Regions from separate parts of the Homo sapiens genome. Here region 1 is linked to region 2. The links are contacts of gene promoters, found by promoter capture Hi-C in human tissues and cell types (Jung and others, 2019). All regions are on one chromosome and are shown on one strand. Each heading gives the region's core, a stretch centred on a gene start or on the middle of the fragment in contact. The rest is flanking DNA. Distances are from core to core; before and after follow the strand shown. Region 1 has its middle 29 kb from the start of FIBCD1-AS1. Region 2 holds the start of QRFP (pyroglutamylated RFamide peptide).

The links. Contacts are between HindIII fragments. The study calls those that stand out against the background at their distance.
Region 1: a contact is called between a fragment that was not itself captured here and the fragment with the promoter of QRFP in region 2, in 3 of the 25 tissues and cell types used here (H1 embryonic stem cells, IMR-90 fibroblasts and mesendoderm cells).

What each region holds. Positions count from the first base shown.
Region 1 is chr9:130,967,521-130,971,392 of GRCh38, reverse strand. No RefSeq gene overlaps it. Among named protein-coding and RNA genes, the nearest start is that of FIBCD1-AS1, 29 kb to the right of the region's middle. The HindIII fragment of the contact is 5,841 bases long and covers 1-3,872 here.
Region 2 is chr9:130,894,250-130,898,061 of GRCh38, reverse strand. It overlaps QRFP (pyroglutamylated RFamide peptide), which reads left to right and starts at 1,250. Exons shown (of 3, transcript NM_198180.3): 1 at 1,250-1,485; 2 at 2,081-2,365. RefSeq lists enhancers at 1,755-2,441, 2,442-3,129. The HindIII fragment of the contact is 19,380 bases long and covers 228-3,812 here.

The sequences.
Region 1 (3,872 bases), core at 292-2,791, 73 kb before region 2:
GGTCCATCCTGTGACCCAATGACCATCAGTGAGTTAAGCTCCGAGAATTCCCACTTCCAGATGAGAAAACAGGCTGGGCTCATATAACGGCCCCTCACAAAGATGGGATTTGGGTGCAGGCCTTTTCAGCTTTTTCAGCTTTGAACACGCATTTCTATCACCCAAGTCTATGCCTCTTAAAGTCAAAAGCAGGCAGGTGCTTTCTTAAGAATGGACAATGCCCATCACTAGTGGCAGAAAGGCTTTCACTCCCTCCCTCCTCCCTTCTTCCCTTCTCCATTCCTTCCTCTCTCCTCCCTCCCTTCCTCCCTCCTCCCTCCTGCCTCCTCCCTCCCTTCCTCCTTTCTTCCTCCCTCCCTCCTTCCCTCCTTCCTTTCTTCCTCTTTCCTGCCCTTCCTCCCTTCCTTCCTTCCTCTCTCTCTCTTTGCCCTTCCTTTTGGAACATGTGTCTCCACCTCTCTCTGTCTCAGTGTGTGTCTCTGCATGTCTCTGTTTCTGCAGTCGGGAGGCAGGGCCCGGGCTCTCTTTCTCCCTGTGGTGTGTGTCTCCCCGTGTGTCTCTGTCTCTGTGTGTGTCTCTGTTTCTCTGTAGGGCAGAACTCTGATTCTCTTTGTCTCCAGTATGGAGTCTGGCTATAGTAGATTATTAATAAAAAATTTTTAGCTAAGCGCAATGGTTCATGCCTGTAATCCCAGCATGAGGGAATTATGCTTTGGGAGGCCAAAGCAGGTGGATCAGTTGAGGCCAGGAGTTCAAGACAAGTCTGGGCAACATGAAGAAACCCTATCTCTACAAAAATAGAAAAATTAGCTGAGCGTGGTAGTGCATGCCTGTAGTCCCAGTTACTCAGCAGGTTGAGGTTGGAGAATTGTTTGAGCCTGGGAGGCTGAGGCTACAGTGAGCCACTGCACTCCAGCCTGGCTAACAGAGCAAGAGCCTGTCTCAAAAAAATAAAAAAGAAAAAGAAACAAAATGAACACCATGTTAAAATGTAGGTGTCTCTTGTTCCCTCCACAGTTCTTCACAGGCCTGTCCTGAGTTCTCCCACGCACAGATTGCCAGGTCTCTCGCCTCCTTCTCCAAGCTCAAAAACCACGCACAGCCTCTGCGATGCATGAGCTTCCTGAGCTGAGGCACCTCAACTCGAGTGGCCAGGGCTGGGCCCGGAGCCTCGAGGTGCCCCACCCCACCCCGCCATGCCCAGGCAGATCGGACCCTGTCTGGACGGTAACCTGGCTGGTGGTTCTTCCCACCACCACCAGGCAGCAGTTACTAGGTGCTCACTGTGGCCAGGCACGCACGAGATCCCTTTCCATCCTCACCTCCCCACCAGGAGGAAGAGCCTTTTTTTTGAGACAGAGTTTCACTCTTGTCACCCAGACTGGAGTGCAATGTCACGATCTTGGCTCACTGCAACCTCTGCCTTCTGGGTTCAAGCGATTCTCCTGCCTCAGCCTCCTGAGTAGCTGGGATTACAGGCATGTGCCACCATGCCCAGCTAATTTTTTTTTGTATTATTAGTATAGACGGGGTTTCACCATGTTGGCCGGGCTGGTCTTGAACTCCTGGCCTCAGATGATCCACCCACCTCGGCCTCCGAAAGTGCTGGGATTATAGGCGTGAGCCACCTCGCCCAGCCTATTTTATTTTTTTGAGAGGGAGTCTTGCTCTGTCACCCAGGCTGGAGTGCAGTGGCACAATCTCCGCTCACTGCAACCTCTGCCTCCCGGGTTCAAACGATTCTCAGGCCTCAGTCTCCCGAGTAGCTGGAGCTACAGGAATGCGCCACCAGGCCTGGCTAATTTTTTTGTGTTTTTAGTAGAGACAGGTTTTTGCCATGTGGCCAGGCTGGTGTCAAACTTGTGGCTTCAAGTGGTCCGCCCGCCTCAGCCTCCCAAAATGCTGGGATTACAGGCCTGAGCCACCGCGCCTGGCCCATTTTAATCATGTTAAAGTACACAGTTCAGCAGCATTTAGACCATTCACCATGTTGTGCTGTGTGAACTTTTTCATCACCCCAAACACAAACCAATTAAGCAGTCACGCTTCATCCCTCCTTTCCCTCCAGCCCCTGGAAACTATTAATCTGTTTTCCATCTGTGGATTTGCCTATTCCTGACATTTTATAGAAATGGGACCATACATATGTGGCCTTTTGTGTCTGGCTTCTTTTTTTTTTTTTTTTTTTGAGATGGAGTTTTACTCTTGTGGCCCAGTCTGGAGTGCAGCGGTGCGATCTTGGCTCACCGCAACCTCCACCTCCCAGGTTCAAGCGATTCTCCTGCCTCAGCCTCCAGAGTAGCTGGAATTACAGGCACCTGCCACCACCATTAGCTACCATGCCTGGCTAATTTTTTGTATTTTTAGTAGAGATGGGGTTTCATTATGTTGGCCAGGCTGGTCTCAAACTTCTGACCTCTTTTTTTTTGTTTTGTTTTGAGATGGAGTCTCGCTCTGTCCCCCAGGCTGGAGTGCAGTGGCGCGATCTCGGCTCACGGCAAGCTCCACCTCGCATGTTCACGCCATTCTCCTGCCTCAGCCTCCTGAGTAGCTGGGACTACAGGCACCCGCCACCACACCCGGCTAATTTTTTGTATTTTTAGTAGAGACGGGGTTTCACCGTGTTAGCCAGGATGGTTTCGATCTCCTGACCTCGTGATTCGCCTGCCTCGGCCTCCCAAAGTGCTGGGATTATAGGCGTGAGCCACCGTGCCTGGCCTGTGTCTGGCTTCTTTCATTGAACATGATTTTGAGGTTCTTCCATGTTGTAGTAGGTGCCAATACTTCACTCCTTTTTATTGCTGAATAATATTCTATTGCATGGATAGACCCACATGTTCTTTATTCGTTCATCCACTGATGGACATCTGAGCTGTTCCCATGTTTTGGTGATTGAGAACAATGCAGCTATTATCATTCGTATACAGGCATAGCTTGGATATATTACAGGTTTCATTCCAGACCACTACAATGAAGCAAATATCACAATAAAGGGAGTTACACAATATTTTTGGTTTCTCAGTGCATATAAAAGTTAAGCTTGGCCAGGCGCAGTGGCTCACACCTGTAATTCCAGCACTCTGGGAGGCCGAGATGGGTGGATCACGAGGTCAGGAGTTGGAGATAAGCCTGGCCAACATGGTGAAACCCTGTCTCTACTAAAAATACAAAAATTAGCTGGGCGTGGTGGTGCACGCCTGTAATCCCAGCTACTCAGGAAGCTGAGGCAGGAGAATCACTTGAACCCAGGAGGCGGAGGTTGCAGTGAGCTGAGATTGCACCACCACACTCCAGCCTGTGTGACAGAGCAAGACTCTCTCTAAAAACAAAAAAAAAAAGTCAAGCTTACATGACACTGTAATCTACTAAGTATGCAATAGCATTATGTCTAAAAAATGTACATACCCTAATTAAAAATATTTTATTGCTAAAAAGTGCTAATGATCATCTGAACTTTCACCAAGTCGCCATCGGTTTTCCGGTGGAAAGTCTGGCCCTGATGTTGGTGACTGCTGACTGATCAGGGTGGTGGTTACTGAAGGTTGGGGTAGCTGTGGCAATGTCTTAAAATCAGACAACAGTGAAGTTTGCCGCATCGATTGAGGCTTCCTTTCACAAAAGACTTCTCTGTAGCATATGATGCTGTTTGATAGCATTTTATCCACAGTAGAACGTCTTTCAAAATTGGAGTCGATCCTTTTCCCGCTGCTGCTTTATCAACTAAATTTATGAAATATTCGAAATCCTTTGTTGTCATTTCAACGATGTTCACAGCATCTTCACCAGGCCTAGATTCCATCTCAAAAAACAACTGTCTTTGCTCATCCATAAAAAGCAACTCCTCACATTCAAGTTTGATCATGAGATTGAAG
Region 2 (3,812 bases), core at 1-2,500:
AGGGAACCCCACAGGCTTCGAGGTGGTCCACGGACTCCACCCCCAGAGCGGCTTCCTGCACCACCAGCCCCACCACCCTCACGCCTCGCCTCCCTGCATTTACCCGACAGCAGAAAAAGCCTCCAGCGCTGGAAGCCGCCCCGATGGGTACTGCCACTCTTGGACTGATCTAGCCCCGGCCACCCTGTGCATCCAGGCAGCCCAGACCCTGCCTATCTCGGCTGCTGGTGGCAAACAGTGGCACAGTTGTCACCCCCAATTGCTCAAGAGGTGGGGGAACCCAGATGCTTCCAGGGGCCCAGGAAGGGCATCTGAAAGCAATTTTTCCGTCCAGGAGTTCCAGGGGTGGAGGGGACCAGGCAAGTCCCTGGAGTCAGAAGGTTTGGCACCAAATCCAACGCCTGACTGGGCTCCAGGCACCCCGGTCTGAAGGGGGCAGGCGGGGACCTGAGGCTGGGGAACATGTGGGCCACGTGGGGACCCCTCATCCTCACCCCAATATTGCTCCCACCCCAGACCAGCCCCTCACATGCAGGACATTCTGTGACCACCTCTCAGAGCCACAGACCTCAGTCCCGCAAAAGGACTCCGGGCCCTGGTGGTTTCAAAGCAGAACCTTTTCTGGGAGCTCAACATGTCAAACACAGCAAAGTGGGGCTTGGCCTGAGGGGCACAGGGGCGCGTGCAGGGCACAGGGGTGTGTGCGGGGCACAGGGGTGCATGCAGGGCACAGGGGTGCGTGCGGGGCACAGGGGTGCCTGCGGGGCACAGGGGTGCATGTGGGTCACAGGGGTGCCTGCGGGGCAGAGAGGTGCCTGTAGGGCAGAGGAGTGTCTGTGGGGCAGAGGGGTGCGTGTGGGGCAAAGGGGTGCCTGTAGGGCAGAGGGGTAGCCTGTAGGGGAGTGGGGTGCCTGTAGGAGAGGGGTGCCTGCGGGATTGGACCCCATGTTGCCTTCCCCAACTTCCATGGCCATTCCTGAGGAATTCTGCAAAGCACAGCTTGGGAACTTGAACCTCGCTTTACACCAAGGGAGCACTGAGGCACCCAGAGGGCAGGCATCCGGTCCAGGCTCATAGCACGGTAGAGACCCACCCTGGGCGGCACCCCATGGATAACTGGTGCCCGCTGTCAGAATCAACCAGCACTAACCAGGGAGACAGAAGGACACCACACCTCCCGTCTCACGAGCACACACACGTGTACGCACGTGTGCACATACTCATGTGGGGGCATACACACACATGCACACACAGGACAGGGGCACCTCAGGCCATCGGAGGCAGCCCTGGCCTGGGGGATGGAAGCTGGTTCTGGCCAGCAAAGCTCAGTCATCGGCTTCAATCCGCAGACCCTCCGCCCGAACCTGGGCGCTCAGCCCCGAAGTGGAGGATCGAGATTCCAGTGCCTTCCTCAGGTCTCTGGGGAAGTGTCCACAGGCTCTCTATTCCCATGACTTCTGATCCCCCAGCAGCCGGGATGCAGGGGTAGGTCGGCTGGGTGAGGGCCCCTGGAATGGGGGAGGCCCTCTGTGCTCAGTTCCTGACAGTGGTGGGGTGGGGCTGCCTCATCACCCCCCTGCCTGCTCTCAGTGGAGGGAGAATCTCTGCCGGGCAAGGAGCAGAGGCTGGGTCCTCCTGCTGGCCTCCCAGAGGTGACCCTCGGTGACAGTAGGGGGCCACCCAGGGTATGCGGTGGGAGGGGCTGGGGGCCACAGGCAAATGCTCCACTGCTGTCCTGGGCATCTGCCGTGCCCCCTTGGTTGGTTCCTGGGTAACAGGCCGCTGAGGGCTCCACCTGCCGGGGAGGTGCACCTGGCTTAGCCGCGCAGCCCGGTGCCTGTGAAACACGGGCCTCATGGGTGTCTGTGGCTTTCCTGCCCATGAAAGCCATCCTGCAAGCTGGGCAGTAGGTGTGTCGGGTAGATGTCCACCCACCCCATGTCCTCTCCGGAGCGTGAGGTGCCAACCCAGCAAAGGCAGGACCCTTAGGGTGAAGGGTGGGCTTGGAACCCCCGCCAAGGGACTCGAGGGTCTGTGCCCGCAATTTGCAGTTAATGATGCTGTCTGCTCTCCTCCAAAGGGCAGCCCGCCTGCCCTCTCATCAGACTACATCCTGTGTGAGGTTGTTTTTATCAACGCGGTCAGCACTGCCCCTCTTCAACAACAGCGTCCCCAATGGAATCCCAGGGTCAGGAATGCGCAGCAGGCAGTCGGCAGAGCAGCAAGCGCACCGCGGGCCATATAAAGCAGGGAGAGCCCAGGGGCCATGCCTCCTGGACGAGGACCCAGAGCAGCTCTGCCCAGCCCAGCCCCGGAGCCCAGCGATCCACCAGCCAGCCTTCCTGGGAGCAGTCCCAGCCACACGGTGAGCATAGCTGCCCTGTCCCCAGCAGGAACCCCAGCTCAGGCCCTGCCCAGGCAGGAGCCAGGCATGGGCAGTCAGAGGGCACACAGAAGCACAGGGAGGGAGTGCCCGGAGAGGGGACACCAGTGCCTCCCCTGCCAACAGCCCAGAGCAGCACAGATTGGTCACGGCTGCCCTGCCAGGGCTGGGACCCAGCCTCACCCGTGCTTTTCCTGTCCCTTCCTGGCTGTGGGGCCTGAAGCCCTGACTCGCGCTGGGGCCGCCTGTCCCGTGATGAGCATCCCCACTTTCTACCAGATTCTTGAAGGGGTGCATGAACCCCTAAAAGGGGTGAAGGGCCACTCCAGGGCCTGCTCTGTCAGGCTGTCTCCTTTCTAGACACCCAGAGGCCACTCCCGGGTGGATTTATCCACCAGGATGCAACGGTCCCTGGTCCACATCGCAGTCAGCAAAGTGCTTCCTATGGGGAGGAGGGAATGGGCTGGGCCGCTGCAGAAAGTCACCTCGTGGAAGCCCCCACTCTGCCTGCGCCCTGATGGAAAGGTTTTCCTGGCAGCATGAGGGAGGTCACTCCATCCCTGGGGGACGAAAGCTTAGAAGAACTGGATTTGGGTAGAAAGTGGGGTTGCATGTATTATTTTTTTAAAAGCTTCCTGGCTGAGCTCGCTTCTTTGAAATGTGTTCGAGGGAGCCATTTCTGGAAAGGGCTCTGGGGACTCCTGTACTGTCTTCTCCAGGGCCGGTGCTCTCTAGTCTAGCCTCAGTTTGACTCTGCGGAGGACAAGCCAGCTCCAGCTCCCCCGCGGTCATTGTCAAAAAGGTTTTCTTTGCCAGACAAGGGAGCAAGTGTTACCAAGGCAGGTTCATTACAGGAGGCTGGGTTTCAGATCCCCCGAGTGCCATGTGGAGTACAGAGGAGGGAGTTAGGGCACGCCTTCCTGAGTCAAGCCCAGTTAGACCTGGGATTGAACTCTAGCTCTGGCACTGATAAGGCCATGAGATCTGGGGCAAGTCACCTCAGCTGTTTGAGACCGACACCACCCCTGTGAAATAGGAGGGTTGGGAGTACCTAGCAGATATGTATGCTTCTTGAAGAAGCCGTCTGGCCATTAGAATCATGAATCCAGAGCCTCCACTTTCTGGCTGTGTGGCCTGGGCACAATCTCAGTTTTTCTGACAGTTTTGTTGCCTGAAAAAGTGGGACTGGCCGGACCTACCAAGCAGGAGTACTATGAAGATGAAGTACAATCACATGTGTGAGCTCTTGGCTCAGAGCCTGGCAGACCTACGGTGCCCAGGCCCCAGTGGTGTCCACACACTCCTTCCCAGGTGGGTGTCCGAATTAGGCCAGGACCATCCAATCTGTTTCTGGCTTTCAGGAGCAACTCGTTCCCACGTGAAAGAGACATTAGCAGGATGTCCCAGCTAAACAGCATAGCTAGACCCA